3 separate regions of the Homo sapiens genome follow, and regions 2 and 3 are each linked to region 1. The links are contacts of gene promoters, found by promoter capture Hi-C in blood cells and fetal thymus (Javierre and others, 2016). All regions are on one chromosome and are shown on one strand. The core of a region is centred on a gene start or on the middle of the fragment in contact, and the rest is flanking DNA. Distances in the headings are between cores, read along the strand shown.

Region 1 (4,252 bases), core at 998-3,497:
TTGTAGCAGCAGCTTTTACTGGTCATGAAATTTGCATGATATCTAAAATGGTATTTCTGGAAATAGGTCAGTGTCAATTAATAGTAACTTTGTATAGAAAGGCAGATGCCAGCTAGCATAAAAGTGGTACATGCAGACGGTGGTAGTTCTGGAGTCCTGGAAGCCATGAGATGCTCATCCATCACAAGGCCATCACAGCCAGTAAAATGCCTGAGGAAAGCAGCAGAGCTGGCCGTGCCAGCATTTACACAGGGAACACTTCTTGGGCAGCCAGGTGTCATGGAGCACAGACCCACAGTTCTCTTTGCACACATCGTGCTCACAGTTCCATCCATAGAAGGACGGGGGGCAGGCACAAAAGGACCCCAATGCAGGTTCCCCCATTCAGGCAGCAGGTTCTGCTTAGCTCCTTACTGTCCTGTATCCCCATGGGCAGCACACGCTGGGAAGACTGAGGCCGAATTGCAGGCTCCTCCTGGGGCCGAATGCTGTCATTTCTGAAGGCCAGGTCTCCCTGAGATGGACACGCAAGTTCCTGATGACCCAGCCCAGCAACTAATCCCAGTTCAAAGGCTTCAAAATGGCCATGATCCAAATCACACTGGAAGAGAAGCAGGCCATCTTCCTGCAGTCCATAGCTCTGTTGTTGTCCCCTTGAAGTTACCTTCCAGAGAAGTCCTTTCTTTTGTCTTCTGTGGAATATCACAAATGTGCTTTTTGAAGCATATATGTCACATGTAGGAGAACTCCATCTCTCCAAGAGAACTGTAGAAACAAAGTAAGGTACACGTGAGTCAGAATGATTTCCAACCCAATCAGCTCCCAGACACGACCTGTGATAGGTCAGAATTTTTAGATGGATCCTCCTGAAGTTCAATTGCCAGCAACTCTCATATTTGGATTCCAGCTAAATTCAAAGGATTTTTTTTCGAGACAGGGTCTTGCTCTGTCATACAGGGCTGGAGTGCAGTGGTGCAATCATAGCTCACTGCACAGTCCACCTACCAAGCTCAAGTCATCCTCCCACCTCAGCCTCCTGAATAGCTGAGACTACAGGTGCACATGCCACCATGCCTGCCTAATTTTTTTTTTCTGTAGGGACAGGGGTCTCACTATGTTGCCCAGGCTGGTCTCAAACTCATGGGCTCAAGCGATCCTCCCACCTTTGCCTCCCAACTTGCTGGGATTACAGGCATGAGCCACTACACCCAGCCACAGCTGACTGATTTTAAATGGAACATAGACTTTCACGTTTTGGGTTATCATCAGGATCAGAGCTAGCCACACAGAAAGGCTAACCATATCATTAGAGAGTTGGGGCTTGGAGCCATGTGATATCAGGTAGGAGGCTGGAGATTGACTTCAACAAAATGGACGATGGTTTAATCAAGCATGCCTAGGTAGTAAAACCCCAGTAAAAACTCTGGACACCAAAGCCTGGGTGAGAGTCCTATGTTAGCACTACCCCCACACTTATTGCCACACATGGACGACAAAGGGTAACACATCCCTAGGAACACAGGAACTTCACATTTGGAACCCTCCCCATCCCAGATTGTGCCTTATACATCTCTTCTAATCTGTGTCCTTTGCCTGTAATAAGCATGACTGTGAATATAACAGATTTCAATGAGCTCTGGGAATTATCAAACCTAAAGGTGGTTTTGGGAAACCCCCAAACTTCCAGTGTCAAAATATTACTTACAGGCCAGGCCGAGTGGCTCAGGCCGGTAATCCCAGCACTTTGGGAGGCCAAGGCAGGATGATCACTTGAGTCCAGGAGTTCGAGACCAGCCTGGGCAACATAGTGAGACCCAATTTCTACAAAAAATAAAAAATCAGCTGGGTGTGGTTGTGTGCACCTGTAGTTCCAGTTACTCCAGAGGCTGAGGCAGGAGGATGGCTTGAGGCTGGGAGGTCAAAGCAGCAGTAACCGAGATCGCACCACTGCACTCCAGCCTAGGCGACAGGGCGAGACCCAGTCTGAAAAAAAAAAAAAAAAGACAGGAGCTGGAAAATGACCGTATAAGGAACTTTACATTAATACTGAAGTGGTTGTAATTTAAGATACCGCGCAGTCCGCAGGTCCTCAGGCGCTCAGAGGACCAGAGGCGGCTACAGACGTAATGGCTACTCAGGACCGCTAGGGAACGCTAGAGGATTGGCCACCGTGCTTACGCATGCGCACACTCTGGCACGCACAGCGTTTACGCGCTCACTGAGACTCGCGCATGCGCAGGTCTCGCATACAGCAGTGCAGTGCCGTTATTCCAGTCTCCGTAGAAACGCTGGGACTATGGCGGAGCCGACTGGGCTGTTGGAGATGTCCGAGCTCCCCGGAGATAGCAGTGTCCCACAGGTGGGCACCGCGAGTGGCGTCAGCGACGTACTGCGGGGGGCAGTCGGCGGCGGGGTTCGGGTGCAGGAGGCTCGGGAAGGCCCAGTGGCCGAAGCTGCGCGGTCCATGGCGCGGATGCCGGGCCCTGTGCCCGGGCCCATCCCCAGCAGCGTCCCGGGCCTGGCCTCCGCGCCAGACCCCCATCAGCAGCTCGCTTTCTTAGAAATTAACCGGCAGCTGTTGTTCCGCGAGTATCTGGATGGTAGCTCCATGATTCCGGTCAGATTACTACGGGATTTCGAGGAACGCCGCAGGCTGTTTGTGGAAGGCTGCAAGGCGAGGGAAGCAGCCTTTGACGCGGATCCCCCGCAGATGGACTTCGCTGCTGTCGCGTTTACGGTAGCGCTGACTGCCTCCGAGGCCCTCAGTCCTCTGGCCGACTGAGTCGGCTGTGATGATGACATTGGTGGCAAGGAATAGCCAAGTGACCCTTTTGGGATCAAAAGAACAGGCAGGCTGTGCCAGTTTAGTTAACTCAGTCATTAGGGGGAATGCAAACTGGAAGGGAATACGGCAATGTGCAATTGAAGGAGGAAGCACACTCCGAAATGGAAACAGACAAGACTGTTGAATCTTGTTTTCTTTCTTCTTTTTTAGTATTATTTAAATAGAGAAGGGAGTCTCGCATCCCTAGGCTGGTCCCGAACGCTTGGACCCGAGCGATCCTCCCGCTTCGGCCTCCCAAAGTGCTGGGATTACTTTACAGGCGTGAGCCACCGCGCCCGGCCGAATCTTGTTTTCAAACAGGTCCCAAGACACTTCTGACTTAGCACTTTGTTAGCAATGCATTTTCCTGCATTTGTGAAGAATCCTTCATGACTTTCACCATAAAGGATGGTTTTGCAAAGATATGAGAAAAAAAAAATGCCAATAACAGAACCCATAGAAATGAACCTAAGTGATGAAAGAAAACAAAGAAATAGAGTTGTCAGGAATCCAGGTGTACCTGAGTTACTAGGATTGGAAGGCTATTGAGAGGACTTTGAAATTTCACAATTTGTGGTCATGTCAACAAATCCTAGTGTAAGATTCATATTTGTGTTTTCTGAGGTACTTTAGATGAACAGTAAATATTCAATAGAAAAAACCACGTATTATATGATCAGTGTTTTCAAGTCTATGTGAAATTGGGTAGGTGTGGAATAAACTTGTTTTTTGTTAATTTTAAGCTTTTTATTTTATTCTAGAATATGTATTCTATTCACAAGACTCAACAAAAAAAAGTATCGGCCGGGCGCACTGGCTTACGCCTGTAATCCCAGCACTTTGGGAGGCCACGGCGGGTGGATCACCTGAGGTCAGGAATTCAAGACCACCCTGGCCAACATGGTGAAACCCCATCTCTACGAAAAATAAAAAATTAACTGGGTGTGGTGGCACGCGCTTGTAGTCCCAGCTACTCGGGAGGCTGAGGCAGGAGAATCACTTGAACCTGGGAGGCGGAGGTTGCAGTAAGCCGAGATCACGCCACTGCACTCCAGCCTGGTCAACAGAGTGGGACTCCGTCTCAAAAAAAAGAAAAAAAGTATCAAAAGATGCTGTGAGAAATCTCTCTTGTTGCTGTCCTTTGCCAAACTCAGAACTATTCCATGCAGGTGCCATTGCTTGTGGCTTGGAGTTTTGTTGTTGTTTTCTTGGTTTTGCTTGTTTTTTGCTTTTTCACTGTACGCCTTTCAGGTTTTCTAATGCATATGCAAATAAACATCAATCTAAATATTGTGCATTTTCCCTTTTAATATCAAGGTAGTTAACTTGCATCACGAGGTATAAATTTTTAAAAATATAAAATCAAGGTAACATATTGTATACCTCTATCAGCATCTTGGGTTTTTTCAGTTATATATGGAGAGATTT
Region 2 (4,252 bases), core at 707-3,206, 390 kb after region 1:
GACCCGAGCCTCAGTCCTTTGGTCCCTCCCACCCTACTTCTGCTGGATCTGGGTACCAGCCTTACTAGGAGTGACTTCAGAGTGTTCTTCTCAACCCACTCGCTTTTTTAAAAAAAACTTAATTTTTACTTGAAAACTGAACTTGACAGTCATACAGACATGTAAGTAATTCTGATGCTCATCCAAGCAACCACCTAAGAAAGCGTGCTTGCCAGAAGAAACTGAACCTGCATCAGATCGAGCTTCTAGACCTAAGTCCTAACTTACAGGAAGCACAGAGACAGAGAACACGTGCAATGACACCACAAGGATGTATCAGCTGGCCCCAGACTGCAAAACTCCAGGACAAATGGCCTAGGTCGCCTGTAGAAAAACTACGACAACATGCACGCCAAAGAGCTGATGCCAGTATCTGAGCATGACGGCGCACACCTGTGGTCCCAGCTATTCAGGAGACTGAGGCGGGAGGATTGCTTGAGCAGGGGAGGTCAAGGCTGCACGTGAGCTCTGATCGCTCCACTGCACTTCAGCCTGGGTAACAAAGGGAACAAAACAAAACAAAAAAAAGAGGCCTATCAACCGGATGCAAAGTGTAGACCTTGTCCAGACCCAAATCAAACAAATGGGCCGGGCGCCGTGGCTCACGCCTATAATCCCAACATTTTGGGAGGCCGAGGCGGGTGGATCACTTGAGGTCAGGAGTTCGAGACCAGCCTAGGAAACTCTGTCTCTACTAAAAAATACAAAACTTAGCCAGGCGTGGTGGCGGGCGCCTGTAATCCCAGCTACTCGGGAGGCTGAGGCAGGGAGAAGTGCTTGAACCTGGGAGGCGGAGGTTGCAGTGAGCCGAGATCGTGCCACCGCACTCCAGCCTGGGAGACAGAGTGAGACTCTGTCTCAAACAACAACAACAAAAAACAAATGAAAAAGGATTATGGCAGGGTACGGTGGCTCACGCCTATAATTCCAGCACTTTGGGAGGCTGAGATGGTTATATCACTTGAGGTCAGGACTTCAAGACCAGCCTGATCAATATGGTGAGACTCCATCTCTACTAAAAATACAAAAATTAGCCGGGCATCATGGCACACGCCTGTAGTCCCAGCTACTCGGGAGGCTGAGGCAGGAGAATCACTTGAACCCAGGAGGCGGAGGTTGCAGTGAGCCAAGATCGCACCACTGCACTCCAGCCTGGGTGACAGAGTGAGACTCTGTCTCAAAAAAAAAAAAAGGATTATAAGACAACTGGGGAAGCATGAGGAGACTGAGGCAGGCTTGTTCTGGAAAAGTGTGGAATATTTCTGGCTGTACGACGTTTGGGATTTGCTCTGAAATAAGCAGGGAGGTGAGGAGCAGGCACAGGCGACAAGGCCTGGCCACAGCTGCTACCTGCTGAGCTGCTGACAGGGACCCCAGGAGGGCGCGAGACTATTCTTCTGGGTATGTGTGAACATTTCCATAATACAAAGGTGTTCAACATTTTACCAAAGGAAATGTGACCTCATCGTAATGGCAAAGAATTATGGATCACTCACCCTGTGAATCCTAACTACTAAATCCAAGCACGGATCCTGCCTCTCTAATAAGTGTAATGGTAATAAGAGTACTAGTAACCAGAATGGCATAATGACAGTGGCCCTGTTCTGAGCATCACACAGCAGACTCACTTCATCCTCCCAGCAACCCTGGGAGGCAGCAGGAATCATTATCCTCCTGCTCCAGATGTGGGAACTCAAAAACATCTGAGGCTCAGGGCCTCGCCCAAGGTCAGAGGATGCTGTGCCGGAGCAGGGAGAGGCTGCAGGTGGAGCTGGACTCCTGAGCCCTTCGCTGGAGAGGGGTAGGGGGAGAGGAGGCAAGGGGAGCCCTCATCCCTCAGTGAGTGGGGACATACGGGACCATCAGCTATCAGTCCCCCCTAGTCCCATCAAATAATAAAGGCTCTTGCAATGTAATATTCGCCTTTCTAGCACAAACCTTTGTTGCAATTAAACTACTGACCGACAGGCAGTCCTACCCACAAAAGCTGAAACATTAACTGGCAGTAGAGGACTCCCGGGACCGTAGAGGTGGCTGGTGTCACAGGGCATGTCAGAGTCAACCCGTGGGGACAGTCCTCCCTGCAAACTTGCAGAGCCAGCCCTAGCCACCCTTGGACTGTCAGTCAGATGGTGTGTTGCCCCCAGCCCCAGACTCCACGTGTCAGGAGCTGTTAGGGAGGCCAGCGTGGTGACATCAGCATCCTTCCCCTCAGAAGGATGTCCTGGGCCTGCAGAACCCATCTCCCCTCTGTGGCTTCAGCCAGATCCTGCCTCAAAACACAGAAATCTGGGAAGTTTCTGCCAGGGGAGGAGGGAAGCTGAAATGCAGGAGGGTGGGGTGGGGAAGGGAGATAAGAGGCAGAAAAACAGGGAGAGAGACAGAGGTGAAACAGAGAAGGCCCAGACAGACATCTGGACAGACCAGAAATGGGAAGATAAGACAGTGACAGAGACTGCCATCGCCAAGCTCGAGGCCTTCTCTGGGCCTCAGTTGCCTTATCTGGAACACAGGAATCACAGTCACATGTCCCCGTAGCGTGCCGTGACTTAACCCCTCCATGTCAGAAGCCTAGAAAAGCACCCAGAACATGCCAAAAGCTAAAACACATTTGTTGCCATTCCTGCAGGCCAGCAGCCCTCACTCCAGCTCAGAAGCATGTCAGAGTCGCCAGGGGAGCATTAAAAAACCCCAAGGCCCAGACCCCACAGCTGTACAGTCAGCTTCAAATGGTCCAGCTTGGGCCCCTGCAGTGCCTCCCACCCCGGGTGACCCTAAGGCGCAGCCAAAGGATAAGGAGATTGGGGAGTGGGCAGGAGGATGGATCCAGCCCTGAGACCTGGATGGGGGAGGGTGTAAAGAGAGACTGAGACAGACTGATGGAGTGGGGGGAGGGCAGTACCCAGAAGGCCCTCTCTGGCTCACCTTCCCCCACTTAGGACCATCAGGAGTCTGGGGCCTGCTGAGGAATGCAAGGAATGAAGTCAGGCCTGGCACAGCCATCTCCAGAGTCCCCTCCCCATTCGCAAACTCCCATGAGGTGTTCCTGGTCCAGCCGCCTCCAAGCCATCACTCAGTCCTCCCTGAACACCCCTTCCCAGCCCCCTCCTTGGAGCCCAGGTCCCGAACCCTTTATCCCGCTGGGTACCCCGACACTGGCCCAGCTCAGGCATCCCCCTCAGTGTACTTCTCAGTGTCTGCAGGAGTTGCAGCAGATGAACAACCATGATCCCAAGAACTGGCAAGGGGCCGTGCGGCTGATCACCAGCTCTGACAGGAGGGAGGCCCGAGGAGGCTTCCCAGAGGTGCTGACCTTTAAGCCAAGACCCACAGAATAAATGAAGTCCGAGCACTCCACAAAGGCCAGCGAGGCTGGGGTGCTGCAGGAAAGTGGGGAGGGACGGGCCCTGCCAAAGCTGCTGGAGGGACAGGGCCAGCCCCTCCCCAGCCAGCCATGGGCTGTGGGGGATGATGTGAATCAGGGGAGGAATCGGCTGTAATCTCCATCACACCTGCTGCCCTCCACCTGTCACAGCTCAGTGGGGGATGGAGAACCCCCCACTGACCCACTGGAGGGTGCTGGGGTATCCCCATATCCTGCCAGCCCCCCAGAGTAGGGCTGGGTCCTGGCTCCTTCCTGCCACGCTGTGGGGAGACCCCAGCTGAGCTGCTTCCCGCATCCCAGAGCCTGTTCCCTAATAATTAAACCGTAAGCTGATTAGTCAAGGCAAACCTTTAATTAGCCCTTGAAATCATTCAGGAAAATTACAGCCTCCTTTCTGGGCACCCTGCCCGCCCTCCGCCAGGGTCCAGGGGCGGTACCAGGGAAGAAGCAGAGAATGGGAGAAGTGGCCTCCTGCCACCGCCATGAGGTCCTCAGCCAGCAAGGCTAAACCCAGGGTGCACGGCATCTTGTGGGAGTGGAGGGCACAGACTCCCTGCCACATCATGAACTACCCTGGGAAAAACCCCACAAGAGGTGGGCAAGGCGTCGGCTGGAAAAGTATGAACGAGAAGACATAAACAAATGGAGAGACATACCACGTTCATGGATTGGGAGACTCAGTGTCAGGTGTGTGCGCACGAGCACACGTACATACACTGACAACATGCTTGTCTAATATTTAAAGGGAATTACAAAAAGTCAAGAATGGGCTGGATGCCCATTACAGTGGCTCATGCCTGTAATCCCAGCACTTTGGAAGGCTGAGGC
Region 3 (4,252 bases), core at 680-3,179, 290 kb after region 1:
AGTTCTCCAGGAAGCCACGATATTTCCTCGGGGTGCATTGTACGACCCTCCAACGGTTGCTGTGGCAGGAAAAAACTTGAGCTCTGGAAACCGTGGCTGACCCCAGGCAACAGGGACCAGTTCCTCCTTGTGTGGTTACCAGGACACCCCCAACACCAGGTCCTAACCCCGGATTTGTAGCCCCACAGCCAGCTTTGAGATTCTGTGAATCCGTGACTCTTGGATCCGGCATCTAAGGGACACCAATCCATGAGGGATTTGGTAGTGAAAGGCCCAAGGGTCCTTAACCGACTGTGGTTCTTTGGATTCCCTTACGTGTGTTTGTATTTGTGAAGTTCCTGTGCATTTGCTATTCTGTCTCCCGGTTTAAATTTATTGCCAGTTATCAAAGAGTGTTTTGATCGCATTGGTTGTTTTCCGTATGATGATTGTGAGGTGCACCTTACAGCAAAAAAAGAGGCCGAGCCAGGGACTCAGGTGGCCTGAGTTTCAGTTCTGACCCTGCCAGTTAATTACAGTGGAATTCAGGGCAAATTACTTTTCTGAGCCTCTGTTTCCTCACCTATAGGATGGGTTAGCATACTTGCCTTGTGGAGGAGTAGTGTCCGTTGAGATCACGTTTTAAACTCTCCAGCTGAGGTCCTAGTATGGTCTTAATGAGTGGATTCTATTAAATAATCACTCACATAAATACACAAACAATTGTGTTATTAATTTTTTCTCCAAATCTGTGCATTAGCAATCTGCGTTGCTGAATGCACCCCTCCTTGCCAAGGTCACACGGCTAGTGAGGGTCAGAACCAGGTTTGAACCCCAGACCCTTCATCTCCAAGACCCATGCTCTTCACCACTGCCTGAACTTCCCTAAGAAAGACGGCACCCACGTGGTGTCCTTCAAGTCCTTCGTCACACCTCAATTCTTGAGCAGAGCCTCATATTCCTGAGTCCTTCCTTGCCTGGGCAATTAAGAAATATTGGCCTCTGGGCATGGTGGCTCACACTGAAATCCCAGCAATTTGGGAGGCCTAGACAGAGAGATGACTTGACATCAGGAATTTGAGACCAGCCTTGCCAACATGGTGAAACGCCATCTCTACTAAAAATATAAAAATTAGCTGGGAATGGTGGCACAAATCTGTAATCTCAGCTACTTGGGAGGCTAAGGCAAGAGAATTGCTTGAACCCAGGAGGCGGAGGTTGCAGTTAGCCAAGATTTTGCACTGCACTCCAGCCTGGGTGACCGAACAAGACCCTGTCTCAAAATATATATATATATATATATATATATATGCCAGGAGTGGTGGCTCAGGCCTGTAATCTCAGCACTTTAATAGGCTGGGTGAGGAGGATGGCTTGAGCCCAGGAGTTTGAGGCTGCAGTGAGCTGTGATCATGCCATTGCACTGCAGTGACAGAGTGAGACCCTGTCTTAAACAACAACAAAACCAGAGCAGGTGGAATCCTCTTGGGAACATACCTTCCTGTAGGTTACCCCTGAGTCTCCATCAGTTTCTCTTTCCCTCCAGCTGCTCATCTGGCTCACTAGCCCTGCCCTGCTCTGGGCTTTCCCAGCCTGGGGCTCCCCTGGTGGCCGGTGTCTTACCTGAGGCTGTGTTTTCACTTTTCCTACATCAGCTGGGACTGCCCTTCTGTCAGGGATAAAAGCTGCCCCATGGAGCTCAGGCAGGAATTACATCCCAGACAGAGCTCAAAACTGACAGAAAGAGTCAAAGCCAGGACACAGTCTGAGATCCAGAAGAGGGGACTGAAAAGAACAGAGACTCCAGACAAGACCCAAACAGACCCTGGGTGACAGCCTCAGAGTGTTTCTTCTGCTGACAAAGACCAGAGATCAGGAATGAAACTAGGTGAGTCCCACATCTCTGTCCGTGCTCAGCTCCTGCAGCCCCTGCCCTCAGTGGGCAGCCTCTGCATTCCCTCAGCTCCCTTTCTCTCTGTGACACAGACATGACCGGGGACTGCATGCCAGTGCTGGTGCTGATGGCCGCAGTGCTGACCGTGACTGGAGCAGTTCCTGTCGCCAGGCTCCGCGGGGCTCTCCCGGATGCAAGGGGCTGCCACATAGCCCAGTTCAAGTCCCTGTCTCCACAGGAGCTGCAGGCCTTTAAGAGGGCCAAAGATGCCTTAGTGAGTCTCCCCCTGCCCTCCTGCCATGGACTAGCCTCCACCCGCACTCCAAGGGTCACCATGCTTTCCCACTCCCAGCTTCCTTCACTGGGCTAGCCTCCACCCTCCCTGCAGTGGGCTATCTCATGCTCCTACTGCAGGGACTGACTCATGTTTTCCTGAAGAAGAGGGTCCTCTACCATCCTCCCAGCAGTTAACCTCCCCTATCCTGTTGTCAGCCATCCTCCAATCCCATCAGAGTGGTCTAACCTCCACCCCTCCTGCTGGGGCTAACCTGTGCCTTTGCTGTCTAGGAAGAGTCGCTTCTGCTGAAGGACTGCAAGTGCCGCTCCCGCCTCTTCCCCAGGACCTGGGACCTGAGGCAGCTGCAGGTGAGAGGGGGAGTCAGGCCCACCCCTGCCCTCCCAGCCCTGCTCACCTGGCTCTGTAGTGGCCCCTTCACCTTCTCCTTCTCCATTGTCCCTCTCTCCTCTCCCCACACCTGCTACCCCTTCCCTCTGCTCCTACCTGACCACACTGGCTGTGCCCTCTCCCCTGTGCCTGTCACCTTCACTTGTTCCTCTCTATCCTCCTCCCCCAACCTGTTCCCCTCACCTCCCCCCTCACCTGCTCTTTCTCACCTCTCCTCAGGTGAGGGAGCGCCCCGTGGCTTTGGAGGCTGAGCTGGCCCTGACGCTGAAGGTTCTGGAGGCCACCGCTGACACTGACCCAGCCCTGGGGGATGTCTTGGACCAGCCCCTTCACACCCTGCACCATATCCTCTCCCAGCTCCGGGCCTGTGTGAGTCGTCAGGGCCCGGGCACCCAGGTCTGTGAGCTCTGAGCAGCGTCCTTCCCCTGGCCAAGGCCCCGGCTCACACACCGCCCTCCTCTGCCCACAGATCCAGCCTCAGCCCACGGCAGGGCCCAGGACCCGGGGCCGCCTCCACCATTGGCTGCACCGGCTCCAGGAGGCCCCAAAAAAGGTGAGTGACCCGGGAAGAGAGGGACTGAGGTCTGGGGAGCCACTGGGAGCCCAGAACCCAGACAGCCCCTGACCCATCCCCTCCTCCCTACAGGAGTCCCCTGGCTGCCTCGAGGCCTCTGTCACCTTCAACCTCTTCCGCCTCCTCACGCGAGACCTGAATTGTGTTGCCAGCGGGGACCTGTGTGTCTGACCCTTCCGCCAGTCATGCAACCTGAGATTTTATTTATAAATTAGCCACTTGGCTTAATTTATTGTCACCCAGTCGCTATTTATGTATTTGTGTATGTAAATCCAACTCACCTCCAGGAAAATGTTTATTTTTCTACTTTTTGAAATCCTTGTTGAAATAAACAATGAGGAAAAGACACCCATGACGTGGGACTGTGTGTGCGTTGGTGTGTATTTCCTTTGCATTGCTGCCATAACAAATTACCCTAAAAGTAGCATCTAGAACAGCAGGTTCATTGAGTCTGTGCTGTCCACTGGGGTCCCCAGGTCACATGTCACTATCGAGCACCTGGAATGTAGGTGGTGCAACCTCATTTTTTCAGTGAGTGTAAAACATACCCCAGAATTTGAAGATTTACTGTGGAGAAAAAAAAAAAAGTAAAACAGCTTAATTATAATTTATATATTCATTAGATGTTGAAATGATAGCACTTTGGATGTATTGGGTGAAATGAAGCATCTTTAAAATTAATTTAGAGCCTGGATGTGATTGCTCAAGCCTGTAATCACAGCACTTTGGGTGGCTGAGTTGGGAGGATCACTTGAGCCCAGACCAGCCTGGGCAACATAGCAAGATCCTGTCTCTATAAAAAATTAGAGAATTGGCTGGGTGTGGTGGCACAAGCCCATAATCCCAGCTACTGGTGGAAGCTGAGATGGGAGGACTGTTTGAGGTCAGGAGTTCACGACCAGCCTGAGCAACAGCAAGATCCTGTCTCTTGCGTGATCACATCTCACTGTAGCCTCAAACTCCTGGGCTCAAGTGATTCTCTCTCCTCGGCACCATCCTCCACCCTCTCCAGCCCCTCCCCGAACTGGGATTACAGGCTTGAGTCACCGGGTCCAGCCCATTCTCTTTCCAAGAAGCCCCTGAATTGTATAAGCAAACATGAGGTCTCACTAACCCTGGA

Evidence for each region. Contacts are between HindIII fragments. The CHiCAGO score rates a contact against its expected background, and 5 or more counts as called.
Region 2: a contact is called between a fragment that was not itself captured here and the fragment with the promoter of EID2B in region 1, in 1 of 17 cell types (neutrophils). The highest score is 5.0, in neutrophils.
Region 3: a contact is called between the fragment with the promoter of IFNL3 here and the fragment with the promoter of EID2B in region 1, in 3 of 17 cell types (neutrophils, erythroblasts and monocytes). The highest score is 10.9, in neutrophils.

The regions. Positions count from the first base shown.
Region 1 is chr19:39,530,847-39,535,098 of GRCh38, reverse strand. EID2B (EP300 interacting inhibitor of differentiation 2B) reads left to right here and starts at 2,247. Exons shown (of 1, transcript NM_152361.3): 1 at 2,247-4,112. The coding sequence starts at 2,297. The coding sequence ends at 2,782. It also overlaps the pseudogene CRIPTOP7. The HindIII fragment of the contact is 7,702 bases long and covers 1-3,569 here.
Region 2 is chr19:39,138,300-39,142,551 of GRCh38, reverse strand. The region is part of intron 1 of PAK4 (p21 (RAC1) activated kinase 4); the gene reads right to left. Among named protein-coding and RNA genes, the nearest start is that of PAK4-AS1, 3.9 kb to the right of the region's middle. RefSeq lists an enhancer at 2,926-3,515. The HindIII fragment of the contact is 8,541 bases long and covers 1-4,252 here.
Region 3 is chr19:39,242,683-39,246,934 of GRCh38, reverse strand. It overlaps IFNL3 (interferon lambda 3), which reads left to right and starts at 1,929. Exons shown (of 5, transcript NM_172139.4): 1 at 1,929-2,147; 2 at 2,441-2,518; 3 at 2,778-2,927; 4 at 3,028-3,111; 5 at 3,205-3,382. The coding sequence starts at 1,968. The coding sequence ends at 3,303. It also overlaps the pseudogene IFNL4. The HindIII fragment of the contact is 30,036 bases long and covers 1-4,252 here.